Linked DNA regions of Homo sapiens: regions 2, 3 and 4 are each linked to region 1. The links are contacts of gene promoters, found by promoter capture Hi-C in blood cells and fetal thymus (Javierre and others, 2016). All regions are on one chromosome and are shown on one strand. Each heading gives the region's core, a stretch centred on a gene start or on the middle of the fragment in contact. The rest is flanking DNA. Distances are from core to core; before and after follow the strand shown.

The links. Contacts are between HindIII fragments. The CHiCAGO score rates a contact against its expected background, and 5 or more counts as called.
Region 2: a contact is called between a fragment that was not itself captured here and the fragment with the promoter of CDKN3 in region 1, in 1 of 17 cell types (fetal thymus). The highest score is 7.8, in fetal thymus.
Region 3: a contact is called between the fragment with the promoter of PELI2 here and the fragment with the promoter of CDKN3 in region 1, in 2 of 17 cell types (total CD8 T cells and non-activated CD4 T cells). The highest score is 6.1, in total CD8 T cells.
Region 4: a fragment that was not itself captured here is called in contact with the fragment with the promoter of CDKN3 in region 1 in 1 of 17 cell types (M1 macrophages); the score reaches 5.9 in M1 macrophages.

The regions. Positions count from the first base shown.
Region 1 is chr14:54,395,252-54,399,138 of GRCh38, forward strand. CDKN3 (cyclin dependent kinase inhibitor 3) reads left to right here and starts at 1,756. Exons shown (of 8, transcript NM_005192.4): 1 at 1,756-1,826. The coding sequence starts at 1,818. The HindIII fragment of the contact is 7,211 bases long and covers 1,445-3,887 here.
Region 2 is chr14:52,553,080-52,556,966 of GRCh38, forward strand. It overlaps GPR137C (G protein-coupled receptor 137C), which reads left to right. Exons shown (of 7, transcript NM_001099652.2): 1 at 1-512. The coding sequence starts at 69. Among named protein-coding and RNA genes, the nearest start is that of GPR137C, 2.2 kb to the left of the region's middle. RefSeq lists silencers at 1-16, 27-226. The HindIII fragment of the contact is 495 bases long and covers 1,004-1,498 here.
Region 3 is chr14:56,116,498-56,120,384 of GRCh38, forward strand. PELI2 (pellino E3 ubiquitin protein ligase family member 2) reads left to right here and starts at 1,914. Exons shown (of 6, transcript NM_021255.3): 1 at 1,914-2,240. The coding sequence starts at 2,164. RefSeq lists an enhancer at 1,302-1,541 and silencers at 1,672-1,731, 1,772-2,031, 2,322-2,391. The HindIII fragment of the contact is 3,737 bases long and covers 1-3,500 here.
Region 4 is chr14:53,210,808-53,214,694 of GRCh38, forward strand. All of the region lies in intron 5 of LOC105370502 (a long non-coding RNA gene), which reads left to right. Among named protein-coding and RNA genes, the nearest start is that of DDHD1-DT, 59 kb to the left of the region's middle. The HindIII fragment of the contact is 1,664 bases long and covers 919-2,582 here.

The DNA of each region.
Region 1 (3,887 bases), core at 506-3,005:
AACAGCACAGATCTAAAAGGATTTCCCGAGTATGGAAAATCTCTGTGGGTGTCTAGGATGGTTAATTTTGTGCATCAGCTTGACTGGGCCATGGTGCCCAGTTATTTGGACAAACATTATTCTGGATGTTTCTGTGAAAGTGTTTTTGGATGAGATTTGCATTAAATTGGGAAACGTTGAGTAAAGCAGACTGCCATCCATAATATGGATGGGCCTCATCCAATCAGTTGACGAGCTGAATACAACAAAAGGCTGACCCTGCCCTGTGCAAGGGGTAATTCTGCCAGTAGACAGCCTTCAGACTTTACATGCAATATTGGCTCTTCTTTGTTCTACAACAGCTTTTGGACTCGAAGTACAGCCTTTCCTGAGTCTCCAGCGCACTGGCCTCCCCCCATCAGATTTTGGACTCTCCAAGCTTCCACAAGCACAGGAGCCAATTCCTTAAAATAAATCTGTTTCTATATCCATATATACACATCCTATTCATTCTTTATCTCTGGGCAACCATGACTAGCTAATACAGTCTCTAAATCAAACTGTGGTACCTTCTTTACTAAGGAATTCCTTCTAATAGCTCTATACCCATTGGCTTTCACAACATGAATCAGGGGTTGAAATTTCTGCATATTTTTCTCAGATCTGCTCCAGGCGACTTCCTTTCCCATGGCTAGTTAAATGGGGACTGGAGAAGGCGGAGAAATACTCACATTTTTAAAAGATTACAGCTAATTATGTAGACACACTGGCCCTTAGACCTATCTTACCTGGCATTTTATAATTTCCCTTTCACACAATATAATTTAATTCATATTTGGGGGACAGGAATATTGATCTACACTGTAACTTGTCTAGTTTCTGGAACGATAAACTAAAACTTCAAGCATATAAAATATGTTTATACTCTAAATTTTTAGTTTTTTCCCTAGTATTTGTATGTCTAGATATAATTACAAAGTCTATGTGATGTTTTTCATGTGACGATCCAATACAGTGCTTCCCTGAGCCCTTAAAAAATAAAAAATAAAAATACAACTTAAAGAAACAAAAACTCCCTACCGTAGCCGCTACAAGGGAGGCTAAGGCGGGAGGATTGCTTGAGGACAGGAGTTCGAGGCCAGCCTGGGCAACATAGTAAGACTTCCGTCACAAACACAAAAACTCCCAACCCGGGTTCGAGACCAGCCTGACCAACATGGAGAAACCCCGTCTCTACAAAAAATACAAAAATTAGTCAGGCTTGGTGGCACATCCTTGTAATCCCAGCTACTCGGGAGGGTGAGGCGGAGACTCGCTTGAATCCGGGAGGCGGAGGTGGCGGTGAGCCGAGATCGCGCCATTGCACTCCAGCCTGGGCAACAAGAGCGAACTCCGTCTCAAGAAAAAAAAAAAAATCACCTCCCAACCGTATGGACCACGCTGACATCCTGCCATCAAGAAGCAAAGCTTTCCAGCGTCCCCCAAGCGCTAGGGCCGCCTTCTGACTCTTCCGCCCCGCCTCCGCCCCCTGCACTCTCCCAACTGGCGGGAGGAGGGCGCCCTCCCAGCCAATCAACGTCCCACAGGGCCCGCCTCCCGCGCGTCTTTCAAAGGTCTTCTAGGAACCAGTCAGCGATTAGAGGCCGAGTCTTCGGCCACCCAAAGGCGGAGTAAGAAACCAGAAGCGGATCTGATTGGTTGCTGGAAGACGCCGCGCCCACCTCACAGAAGGACGAACCAGTGAGCTAAGCTGCGGGGCGCGGGCTCGGCCGGGGCACCGGTGAGTCGCCGGCGCTGCAGAGGGAGGCGGCACTGGTCTCGACGTGGGGCGGCCAGCGATGAAGCCGGTGAGTCGGACGTGCTGGGGTTTGGAGGAGCGAGGCGGCAGGGACGCAAGCGGTCCCGGGGACCCGATCCTGGGCCGGAGGGCAGCCCTAGCCTGGTAGCAGTGCGACTGGCGCCGTAACCGTTCTGCGGGTCGGGGAGGTGACTCGCACGGGCCCAGCACGGGCACGAGAGACGAAGGAGCAGGGTCGGTGGCCGACGAAGGAAAGACGGACATTCGCTGTGCACCTGCTGTGGGCTGTCACCTGTCCCCTGCGGGGTCTCATAAGCCTCCCAGCCGCCCAGCCAAAGAGGGCCGAGCCTCGTTGTACCGAGGAAACCGAGCCGAAGAGCTTGAGTGTCAGCGATGAGTGGGCGCGATACCCCAGCCCCGAAGGGTGGCCGGGCGCTACCTGCGCCCACAGGGCCTGGGGAAACCTTGAGTACGAATGCCACGCCGCGGCTTGTGGGCGACACCACCGCTGTCACCATGCCCCAGGGCCACCTGGCAATGCTGCTCTTTTCCCGTGACGTTCAGAATCACAGGGCCTGGGGAAGCAGAAACGTCCAGCTCTGTTAGGATTAATAAACCTGGTGAATGGGCCACACAAATTTGAAATATGAATCATCAAAGTTGCTTTAAAGAAAAAACAGATGCAGGCAAGGAGCTGAAGATCCCCCACCTAACCCATATTTCCTACTGCCCGGCTTGACAACCTACTGGAAGCCTTTCCTTTGGGTGCAGTTGATTATAATACTTCAGATAGAGCCAAAGCAACAGAAATCCATAGCCTAGGGCCGGGTGGTGTCTCGCGCCTGTAATCCCAACACTTTGGGAGGCCAAGGCGGGCGGATCACTTGAGGCCAGGAGTTGGAGACAAGCCTAGCCAACACGGTGAAACCCCGTCTCTACTAAAAATACAAACATTAGCTGAGCGTGGTAGTGCACGCCTGTAGTCCCAGCTACTCGGGAGGCTGAGCCACGCAAATAGCTTGAACCCAAGAGGCAGAGGTTGCAGTGAGCGGATATCACGCCACTGCCCTCCAGCCTGGGCGACAGAGCAAAACCCTATCTCAAGATAAAAGAAAGAAAGAAAAAAAAGTCCGTAGCCTAAATTAGCCGTCCTGTGATCTTCTAGTACCAAGACCGTTGTAGAATATAGCTTCAGAGCTAGAAAGAGCATTAGGTGCTTACAATTGCTAATCCCTATGTTGCCATGTGGAGGGACATCAGCTGTCCTTCACTCCTGGCCTCTTTCTCCACCTGTCCCCATTGAGTTATCTGATCCCCGAGTTTGGAAGGAACTGAACACCAGTATCTCAACTTTTTCTTTCCTTCTTTCTTGGGATCTACCTGCCTGCCTGCAGAAGGTGCTTTCTGGTCCACTCTCTGGCACACAGGAGCCCCAGACTGTCCATGGCCACCTGTGACTGGGTGGATACATTTGTCTAATTCTGGGGTGAACAAGGGGCAAGCCCACGTGGCAACAGCTTTAAGCTGCATACTCCATTTGATATACAATAATAAAACTCCATTTCTTTATCTTTCAATTGGTTTCAACTAGGGAGTGAGAAAAGGGTATGGGTTTTGTTCTGTTTTGTTTTTGTTTTTCTTTTTCTTTTGATTCCTTAAAATTTCAACAAGGAGTGTAGAAGTCTTCCATGTCAAAATGCTGCAGGATTAAGTTCCAACTGCTTAGATCAGCATACGAAGTCTATCTCAATCTCTCTAGTCTAGTGATTCATAAAGTTGGAGGCAGGTTATTTCACCTACACCACCCCCACCAAACTACTAGGCCATGTGGGGATGTTTTTTGAGAAAAGGGGTGGGCAAAACTACTTCATCTCCTCTACTCCATCTCTATTTTGATATCACAGTTCCTCAATACACAAGCCCTTGGCTTAACTTCTTTCCTTTCTTTTTTCTTCTTCCTTTTTTTTTTTTTTTTTTGGCAGAGTCATGCCCTGTCAGCCAGGCTGGAGTGCAGTGGTGTGTTCCTGGCTCACTGCAACCTCTGCCTCCTGGGTTCCAGGGATTCTCCTGCCTCAGCCTCCCGAGTAGCTGGGATTACAGGCATGTGCCA
Region 2 (3,887 bases), core at 1-2,500, 1.8 Mb before region 1:
CCTTCGACGGCGGCTCCGAGTCCAGCCCCTTCCTTCCCGCGCTCGCTCGCCCGGCCCCCAGCCCCCTCATGAGGGTGTCCGTGCCGGGTCCGGCGGCCGCTGCCGCCCCCGCAGCCGGCCGCGAGCCCTCCACGCCCGGCGGGGGCAGCGGAGGCGGAGGCGCCGTCGCTGCAGCCTCAGGCGCCGCGGTGCCGGGCTCCGTGCAGTTGGCGCTGAGCGTCCTGCACGCCCTGCTCTACGCCGCGCTGTTCGCCTTTGCCTACCTGCAGCTGTGGCGGCTGCTCCTGTACCGCGAGCGGCGGCTGAGTTACCAGAGCCTCTGCCTCTTCCTCTGTCTCCTGTGGGCAGCGCTCAGGACCACCCTCTTCTCCGCCGCCTTCTCGCTCAGCGGCTCCCTGCCCTTGCTCCGGCCGCCCGCTCACCTGCACTTCTTCCCCCACTGGCTGCTCTACTGCTTCCCCTCCTGTCTCCAGTTCTCCACGCTCTGTCTCCTCAACCTCTACCTGGCGGAGGTAAGGCGGGAGGGCCGGCATGCGGGGCCCGGGCGGGTGCGCGGGGCCGCCGGGATCAACTCCCGCTGAGGACCAGCGGGGGCGGGGGGTGGGCAGCGAGAGGCGGACTGGAAACCAGCCTGGGGAAACTGAGGCACACCTGGAGTGTGAGCCAGTGTTTTCGCCTTAAACTTAAGTGGCTGATTGGCTTGATTACTGAGGGGTTCGGGCTAGGGGGTGAGTGAGTGAGTGTGTGTGTCTGACAACTTAAAACAGCAACGGAACGAACCCTTTGTTCGGTGTTCTGGCCCTCCGAGGTAAGGCGTTGGTGGCACCAACAAAGTGGCATCGCAAGAAGTAGCAGCCCCGGTGGCTCTGCCGAAGCCGGACTGTGTTGAGGGAGGTTGGATGCTGAGGTAGCAGCAGCTCTGCTGAAGCTGGACTGCTGCCAGCCATTACGTCACCAGGCAGAGCTGTTCCTCTGCTATTGTTGCTGCGTTTCTTTTATTAGAAGCTTATATTCCCTCCTGCATCTCCTTTCCTGTGGCTCGATAAGCCTCACATAAATTTCGTTCGATAGTTCCCCAGCAGGGTTGATGATCAATAACCAATGCTGAGGATCAGGATAAGGACCTCCATAAAGCCCTTAATGTTTGCCCCAGTTGCTTCGTGCTTTAGCGGTTTATCCTACCTCCTATTAGCATAGTCTTTTTTGGAGCTAATTAAGAGAAAAAAATACTAGCTTAACCTGTGCCTATTGCAGAAACAAAACCACCAAACTGTTTTTGCAATAACTTGCTTAATATCTGGAACCTAATCACACCCCCTTTCTCTTTTATGGGGAATTGCTGGTTGGATTGCATTGTTCTGCAGCGCTTAGGTATTTGACCCATTTCAAACAGGTTTGGGAGTGTAAGGTTGTCAATCATGTGTGTCAGCTTGTGGTATTTAAGCCATAATATTTTAAGACTTTCCCCCAAAAAAGTCCTCCTTCCCACCAAAAGAAAAGCTTGAGGAGGGGAGGAAGCAAGGTGACATCATATGCTTAATACAGACTAATATAGAATAATATTGGCCTATGCAGCTAATCCTCTCAAAGGCTTTTTTGGAGGTGATGGAATTAATGTAGTTCCAAGCAAAAGTAAAAAAAAAAAAAATGACGTATATTAAGTGTTTATATTTCCTGCATAAACCAACTCTTTTCTCCTTTAATAGGAAGTAGAATGCATAATTTTATAATCAGTCATAATGTCAGCTATTTAGCACACTAAAAACAATAGTTGAAAACAACAAAACTAATTTAACTTTTATTATTTTCCTTCTCCATCCTTTGAAAGTCCAAACAATACAATGACAAAAACGCAAACCAGTAAGCGGAAATAAGAAGCATAGGTTATCACAAATCAAATGATGCCATAGTCGTGTCACTTATTTGAGGGTGTTCTAATCTAGTTGTCGTTTAAGCTGTTATAACACTTCTACCCTTTATACTTAAACTGATACATTGTAATCTTCCTGCCACCATTTCAGATAGTGCGTTAGTGACTTCTCAACGCTGAAGCTTTTACTCCAGGTTCAGATGTTTACCTGAAAGTGACTAGCGATTTTTATGCCAGGGGCATCAGATGACTTGTTTTTTCCCTATATATTTTGATTTACAAAATAATATGAATGATTCACTGTAAAATAGTTGGTAGGCATTTCATAAAGTGGGTAAACACTCTTTTTACTTCTTGAGGTATAACATATACAATAAAGTCCACAATCTTAAATGCACACCTAGATGAAATTTTATATCTGTATACACCCATGTTACCACCACCCAGATTAAGATATAAAGCATTTTCCGTGTCCCAGAAGTTTCCCTTTTTACCCTCTCCCAGTCAGTAGCTCCCCCAGGTAAGCACAAAGTGGGTAAACACTATCCAAAAAAGGAGATATATTTAAGCTCAAAATTCTGAAGGTATGCTTATATAGCATAGAATACACGGAGTATCTAGATTGGGTCTTCAGACTTTGAGCTAATATTCCAAGCTAGTGAGGAAGAATTTAAAATCTGAAAGTCTTCCTGTTAAATGTTTGTGTAATATGCTTTTTTAAAAACGATAAAACTCTATTAACCTGAAAAATACAATTTGGAAAGAAGCTGGGATAAAGCTTTTTTCCTTTGTAATGCCTGCTAAAAAGAGTGTGAGTTGTTTGTCTATCCTTTCTTTTTATAATGAAATTAACAATTTTAGGACACAGTTGTACTTAAGAGAACAAATTGTCAATTTTTTGAAAGCCTGTTTGAAAGGAGATATCTTAACCAGAAATCATTTCTCTTTTCATTAGAGAAAATCTCCAGGAACCTGTATTTAAGAGAGTATTTTAGTTCAAATTTTTATGTCAGTTCCAGATAACTGCAAGTATACTTCCCATTGATCATTCTGAATTAATGAAGTTTTTCCTAGTGAGTTCTTCATATTATAGCAAAGTGGTAGGGAAAGCCTATGTGGTGATAAATATAAGACTTAACTGATGTTTAATTTTTTTAACCAAAAGCCCCTATAACTTTTTTGAATAGTCGTGTGTCTTGATTACCAACTCACTCTGTCTTTGCTGTATGCCGTATTAAATACCAATTCCATATTACTTTTCACTTGTTTAAAGCATTTGTTTTTTTCTGATTCTCACTAAGAGTAGCTTTAAGGACTTAGTTATAAAGAATCGTGGATCAGTATAAAAAGTAAAACAAACTCTACTACTTTGAATACATTTTGGTGGATATTCTAAAACTCATGTTTTTGAAAAGTTAAGAAATGCCTCAACCCCTTTTTTCTTTTTTTTTTTTTCTTGGTGTCTACACTTGAATGGAATTGAGATGAGGGAAAGTAGCCCTTTCTTAAACAGTTAAGCTTCTCAGTGTCTCATACTTAACCTCCTGGAAGCCTATAGTTGAGAGAGAGGGGGAAAAAAAAAAGAAAAGCCACCTTGTACACTAATCTAAAAACACATTTTGAACTTCTGGCAGGATCAGTAGGACAAGAGCTTTTCCAGAGAAGGGTTCACACTCCTGGAGTTTTACCGGAGAAGACTTCAATATTTGAAACAGACTATCTGATAAAACTGATTCTATCTACCATTAGAACATATTGAAGGACTTAAAAGGAGAATTGACAGCATCACACAATATATCCATGTAAGAAACCTGCACATGAACCTCCTGAATCTAAATTTTTTTTTTTAATGAGAGTTGATGGTATACCATCTTGGAGTGTTGTGATGCATGCCAAAATCAATGAGTTCATCTTCAACATATTGAAGTTCTTACTTTCAGTTTGGTCTTAGGAGTGCCAGTTGCTTAATCAGGATAAAGTACAGTGACTTAATTACAATGCCAAAACAGATAGGAAA
Region 3 (3,887 bases), core at 664-3,163, 1.7 Mb after region 1:
AAGATTGGGATATCCTATGGGAAACTCTCAGCCTAGTGCTGGGAACTTAGTAGGAGGTTAATACATATTTCTTTCTATCTTCCTAAGAGCAGATGCGAAGCACAGCAAGGAGGAAATGCAGCCAGAACAGTATAATGCAATGCAACGCACACAGGCACAGCAGGCCAAGAGAGAAGGAAGGAGGTAATGGTAGCCTAGAGAGCAGAAGCAGCAACAGAGGAGGCCTAGAGAAGCTAGGGTGACAGAGGCAGGCATCATCGTAATCGTGACGGCGCAACTGCAGAATGATTCTGACAGATCTTTGATAGTCATACAATCTATGTGGTAAGTAGATGCACAGAGTACATGAAGACAACATTAATCCAGCAGAAATTTGAAAGAAATTTACATCAACACTGGGGAGGAGACATGATTTATCCCTTTAGTGAAGGAGTGCTGGTTAAAACTGTAACAGATTTTTTATTACATATAAAAAATATAGAGAATACGTAATATATGCAGAATAACTAATATTCATTTGAAATACAGAATTTCTATAGTTAGCTGAAATAAGTTAACTGTTTAATAAAGTTTATTTTTGGCTTACCAGTGGTGTGGCTTTAGTTACTTTGGAATAATTTATTTCTAAAACCTCAATTAAAAAAATCAGTTCCTAACTGAAGTAAAATTATCAGAAACATCATGTCACTACCGTAATAACCTGTCAGAGAATGTTACACAAGGGGTGCAGCACAGCGGAATGGAAGGTTACAGATGCAATTATTATTTTTTCTAGCCCTTTGCTTCGGGTCATAGCCAACCAGTCACTATACACAGGGTAGCTTCTGCAGTATTTATTTCTTTAAATATTTAACAGTGTTGAGAGGCAATGACTCGCAATAATATGTAGAGTTTCTAGCACATTATGAGTGCTTAATAAATGTTAGAACAATAAAATCCTGTATGATGAAAAACAGCAGTCAGTAAAACTATACAGTCTACGATATTTTAAAGCCATAGCAATAACTAGTTTAAAAAGAATAGAAAGCAAACAGTGCATTGATTAAATCACGGTCATAAAGGAACATTTACGTTCACTAAAAAGTCCACCCAGGTAATTTCCCCTTGTATGTATTAGGGGATGGAAAGAAGGCACAGGAAAAGTGGATAAAGTATGGATTAAAAAACAACTCTTCCCCCATCCCCCCGCCACCCCCCAAAAGCCAGGTGGAGCTCTATTGACCACAAGCCGGGGTAGCTACATCCAGTGCAACGGTGGGGTGCTCCAAGCGCCTTCGAAACGTCCTCTACGCCAGCACCAACTGGCAAAACCTTCTAATTTTCTAGACGCCTTTCTGCTTGGTTTTGGAAGGGGAGGCACCCAAGTGGGTGTGTGCGACACCTCTAGTTGTAAGCCGGGACACAGTGACGTCGAGAGAGCGCTATTCTACTCGGAGAGGAAGTTAATCCCATCGAACTCCAGCCAGGAAAACGTGGGCTTGGGAACCGCGGCCGCTCGTTTCCAGGATCTCCCGCGGGCCTTCGCGGCTGAAGAACCAGGCGGCGAGGGCTGAGGACCCCGCGCTCTAAGTTTGGGGAAGGAAGTGAGGAAAAAAAACAGAGCTGCTCCTTTAAGAACTTCCTTTCCCTTTTACTCTATGTTTACATAACACAGGGGCCGAGCCTCCGCCGGGCCGAGGGGGGCGGGGAGTGGGCGCGGACGGCCCCACGCGCCGGGGGAGGGGGCGCCCCGCGGGCCGGGGGCGGGCGCCTGGCTCTGCGTGGGGCGGGGCGGCTCCCACCTGCCCGCGCGCTGGCCCCCGCCTCCCCCGCGCGGCCCCAGCCTCTCGTGCGCCCGCTCCCTCCTCCTTCCCTCCCTCCCGCGGGGCTTCGGCGGCGGCGCTCAGCGCAGGCAGGTCCCCCTGCTGCCGGGTCCCATTTGTTGCCGGCTCTGACTCGGGGCGGCCGCGGCGCGCGGAGCTCCGGGGAGTCAGGCGGAGCAGCCGCGCAGCCACGACGGAGCAGCAGCGGGACTGGCCGCCCCGCGCCCCCTTCGCCGCCGTGCCCTTCCCCGGCGCGCTCACCCCGTTCTCGGGATGGGATTGTAGCGGCGGCGCGGACTCGGCGGGGATCGCGGCGGAGGCGGCGGCGTCGGCGGCGGCGTCGGCGGCCGAGCGGGGCTCCATGTTTTCCCCTGGCCAGGAGGAACACTGCGCCCCCAATAAGGAGCCAGTGAAATACGGGGAGCTGGTGGTGCTCGGGTGAGTCCTGGGGTCCCTGGTCCCGGGCAGCGGCGCGGGCGGGGAGCGCCCGCATCCTGGAGCGGGGCTGGCGGGGTGGCTCGGTGCTCTTTGGGGACCGCCGGGGCGCTCGGGGCGGCAGGAGAGGCTCTCAGGGCCCGGACGGCGGCGCGGGGGCGGGATGCGCCCCATCGGCGCGCGCTCGGGGTGCTGCGGCGGACGCCGGGCTGCGCTGTCCGCGCGGAGGACGCGGCGGAGGAAGTGGCCAGAACTCGGGCGACCCAGCGGGGGCAGCGCCGGGCACCGGGTCCGCGGCCGTATCGTGGGGGCGGGGGCAGGGGCTCCACTTCCCGCGCGCCGCGTCCGGGCCGGGGAGGGCGGGCAGGGACTCCATGTGAGGCGCCGCGGTCGCGGGCGCTTCGCGGGGTCGCTTCCCGAAGCTGAGAGGCCGGCCGGCGCGGAGCCCCGTCTTCCCACCTCCCTCGCGGACCGTGGTACCCGCGCCCCCGAACTCCGAGCGCGGCGCCGTGAGCTTGGGCCGCCGCGGGCTGTGGGATCCCCGGCTGCGCTTTGCAAATTGTTCCGATGACCGCCGCGGGCCGCCGCAGCCCGAGAGCAGTGAACTGTGTGTGACCCGGGCCGGCCGGCCCTCCGCTTCTCCCCGCTTGGAGTGCTCTGGAGGGGAGGGACAGGATGCGGCTGCTCGGGGCCTGGCACCGGGGCGCGGGCCGTATCCCCCCGGTCCCGGCCTCGCTGATGCCCTCCCGGCTGCGGGGAGCTCGCCAGCCTCGCCCGCCTCGGCTCCCTCTCTGCTGGTGAAAGCCGCATCTTGAAGATAGTAATTATGTACAATCGTTAAACGGCAGCAATTAGAGACTTCATCTACTTCCTGAGTTTCCTTGTGACATTTCTATTGTTTACCCTTAATAAGCCAGGAGAGAGGCTTTGCGGGCTTAAAACTGGATATAGTGGGCAGTGAAAGGGGAGGGGGAAGGGGGAAGTGCAGGAAACTGGGGGGAAGGAACAACTTGGGTTTAGTGTTGAAGAAAGGATTATTTTTTCCTTTGGATGTGTCGCTCTGGGAACCCGCGCTTTTGTCCTTCTGCGTTGAAAGACCTGTATTCAGAACATCCTCGGCGCTGATAGGTAGGCTTAGCACACATATGAGGAGTCATGGCTGTGGGAAGACTCAGGGAACTTTGCAAAACGTGTTTTGATAAGTGAGTGCCTTGAAGTAAGTGCTGACTTAAAAATAATTTAAAGAGAGGAGTTTTTGAGGGAAGCTTCCAGACACCGCACAACTCAAAGCTTCCCAGTCTTCCTGACTTTGTTGCTAGTGCATTAAGTGGGGGTGGTATTGGAAATCTCATTACCTATTTTGAAGCTGTTTGCAGATAAGTGTTTTTCTCACCTACATCTTAATTGCACTTCAAAGACAAATATCAGGGTTCACAGGAAGGCGGGAGGAATGACAGGAGAAAAGCCGCAGTTTAGTCTGTCTTATGTAACTTCAGCCCAACCTAATCTTGTGGAGTTTGGTTTTGTTTGTGTGGCTGGCTTCAGTGTGTTTAACACTGTGAACTTGACGCGGAAGATTAACGTATGCCAGAACTTTATTTCATTATTTCCTTTTGAGGAAATCATTGTTGAGATGTTTCAGAAAAGCAG
Region 4 (3,887 bases), core at 501-3,000, 1.2 Mb before region 1:
GACCTGAAATGGATTATGTAGCCCGTTTCTAGTACAATGTTAAAACAGATCACTCCAAGTCTAGAAAGTTTTGTATTATCTGGGCTGCTTTTTTAAACACCAAGATCAAAGTTAACCCTATAAACATTCCTTACATTATGGCACAGATGTCTTTGTGAAGAGTTGGTAGAAATTGAGTAGAAGACTGGATTATATTTTATAGGAACTCTGGTGACTTACTTATAAGTTAAAGGTATGCTATTAAGATCTTTATTTTGTTTGAAAGAACACTCTCTAATATATCTTCTGTGTAGCTGTGGATTTTTATTTGATAATTTTTCTTAAAATAGATTTTTTTAAAGTCACCTGACTCTGCTTCTTTAAGACAGACTATAAAAACAACGGAAACCGGGCACGGTGGTTCATGCCTGTAATCCCAGCATTTTGGGAGGCTGGGGTGGGTGGATCACCTCAGGTCAGGAGTTCGAGACCAGCCTGGCCAACATGGTGAAAACCCGTCTCTACTAAAAATACAAAAATTAGCTGGGTGTGGTGGCGGGTGCCTGTAATCCCAGCTACTTTCAGGAGGCTGAGGCAGGAGAATTGTTTGAACTTGGGAGGCGGAGGCTGCAGTGAGCCGAGTTCGCGCCATTGCACTCCAGTCTGGGCAACGAGCGAAATTCTGTCTCAAAACAAACAAACAACAAAAAACAATGGAGCACTCTGGAAGTCAGCTTTTTAGGACCACATGCTGTGACATCTGACACTTGGCATCCTTAATGTTGAGGGCACTTTCTTTGGGAGGTACATTGGCCTATTTCTAAGAAAAATATATATCATAATTATTGTATAAAACAGTTACTGATCTTTTTTTTTTAAAGATGGTAGTAAGTTGAGAAAATTCAAGTAAACATTAAGTAAACTTTAAATATTAAGTAAAGCTTTATTTTAAAAGCTGTTAGAAGTTTCTTTTCTGGCTGTTTAGATAATGCTGGGTAAAGACATTATTTTACAATAAGTAAGTGATTTGAAGAGAATAAAATGATATATTTGGTATAATCAACATTAATGCAATCATAAATAATAGAAAACTCTCATGTTTGGAACACATAGTTTAGATTTTAAGGTAATTTGAATATATCATGTGTGATTACTTAGAGATCAACTATTCTCAGCCCTGGCTGTGCATTAGAATTACTGAGGAACATTTTAAAAATACTGATGTCTGGGTCTCACACTCGGAGATTCTGATTTAATTTGGGAAGTGGATCAGACTCTATATTCTCAGAGATCCATGGGGAAATTCTAATGTATAGTCAAAGCTGGGAACCACCAGTATAAAACCTTGCAACTTAGAGTGTGGGCCATAGACAGTGTTAGCCTCACCTACAGCTTATTAAAAATACAAACTCTCAGGCCCCACCTTAGACTTTCTGAATCAAAGTCTGCATTTTAAGGTGAGGTAAGGTAGCTGACACCTGTAATCCCAGAACTTTGGGAGGCTGAGGTGGGCAGATTGCTTGAGGTCAGGAGTTCGAGAGCAGCCTGGCCAACATGGTGAAACCCCGACTCTACTAAAAAAAAATACAAAAATTAGCCAGGCGTGGTGGCGGGTGCCTGTAATCCCAGCTACTCAGTAGGCTAAGGCAGGAGAATTGCTTGAGCCTGGGAGCAGAGGTTGCAGAGAGCTGAGATTGTACCACTGCACTCCAGCCTGGGTGAGAGTGAGACTCCGTTTCAAAAAACAAACAAACAAGCAAGTCTGTATTGTAACTAGGTTGCAGATTCATTTGCAACATGTTTTTCATAGCACTTTGACTTTAAAAGTGCTTTCATAGTCATTTTTCTGTTCATTTGTGTATTTTGTGTGTGTGTAGGGGGGGTCCATTTATTAAGTATCTGGTGGGAGTGGACACTGTTGTAGATACTGAGAAACATAAAAGTAGGAATAAGATTTGGGCCTCCCTTTCAAGTAAGTTGCAAAGGAGTGGGGTGGAGGTGGGGTAGAAACAGATCTGGTGAGCAGATTGGGACCAGAGATGTAAAACAGCTGTGCTATGGAGCTATTGATAGCCTTTTGGGAGGAGAAGGAACAGGGGATACCCCTCCCTTCTCTACCCCATCTTCACTCAGGGAGTGGGATTTGAGCTGAGTTTTTCAAATAGAAGTAGGCATAGGACTGGTGGTTCCTAAAATGTGATTCCTGGCCAGCAGCATCTGCATCCCCTGAGAACATGTTAGAAATGCCATTTGTTGGGCCCTTTCCAGACTTAATGAATTACAAACTGAGGGTAGGGACCAGCCATCTGTTTTGTATTTTTTTTTTAACATGCCCACCATGGGGGGGAGGGTGGGGGGGGATTATGATACACATCACCCAAGTTTGAGAACACTGGATGCAAGCATTTTCCATACAGAGAAGAGAGGAAGGAGCATTGCACACCATTGAAAAAGTATCCCCCAAATCAGAGGAAAGGTCATTTGTAGCATTCTGTGAAGTTTGTCATGGCTTGAACTTAAAGTAAGTTGAACATAGTAAGCTGACTATACTAGGAATTTCCCCCAAATTTTGCTCAGATCCATGTATTTTTATTGTTCCGGAAAGCTTAATCTTTCCCTTTTAGGTCATTGGATCATTAATTACATTTAAAGAAAAAGCTTTGTGTTTGGTTGTATTTATTTATTTTTCTGAAAATTAAATTATGAAGTTGGCTGAACACTTTTTTTTATAATTGGAATGTTATAACTAGAAGATTTCTGTAGAAATGCATGGGAAGACTGAAGCATAGGGACATCCCTATTTGCCTTTAAATAAGCCTAGTTTAAATGGTCTTTCTTGGAGTGTAGCTGAATTTACATTGTCTGTGATCTTCTGTGATAGAGTGAATCCATATGAACCAAAACCTCCAGGTCCAAACAACTTTAATAATGTTAGTTTTTCCCATTTATATATTTTCTTGTCATAATAACCAGCATAGAGCAAACATTTTTTACTTTCCTTTTTCTCCTTCTCAAGTTGAACTGCTAATTGGCACCTTGGAGGCCAACGGGGGTCACCGAAGGGAGGAAAAGGGCTGGATAATGAATCAGGAAATAGGGTTCAAAGGGAATTCCCATTCCAGTGCTGGAAATAACCATAGAGATCACACAATCCAGCCTTTTCACATCAGAGGCCTCTGAGAGCTTAAATGAGTTGCCTAGGGTCACATTGTAATGTAGGAGCTGGAAACAGAAACCATGTTTCCCAACTCCTTGCTGAGTGTTCTTTCTACTGCTTCATAGATAGAGGTAGACTGTATCCTCATGGGGAAACACACACACTATGTGGGTGTTGCTGTAGAACATAATGATTGATTTTTCCCTTTGCCATGTGTAAGGGGCTAGTAATAGACCAGATCTCATCCAATTTGATAGCTTTAACTATATGTAAGGTACATGGATGTTCTTTGGTCAAGGTTAGGCCAAGGCAGACATCCAGGCCTGCATGATTCAGTGGGTTTAGGGTGCAGGCTCATACTCCATTTGTTATCACCTGTTTGTGTAAGTTCATTCTTGGCTTGGAGCTGCTGTTGTCTTTAAAAGGTATAACTGCCCGGCTGACAGTATTGCATGGGGCTTGGCTCTTAGGCATGGCTCAGCATGGCTCTTGTACTGGTGCCCAGAGAAACAGAGAGAGAACCAGAGCTGTCTTTCTTGTGGATGGACAGAGGGGAGCCAGGTCATGGCTTGGCTTGTCTCTCGTGCCCAGGGAAACAGAGAAAGAGTTAAGCTGCTGACCCTGAAAGCAGGGGAGAACCGGCTGTGCAGCTGTGTGTGTGGGAGCAGTTCAGAGCAAGCAGCCGAGACAGGGAGGACAGTGCGAGAGAGACAGTGTAAGTAAGCTGCTGATGAGAAAGCTGTTGATGAGA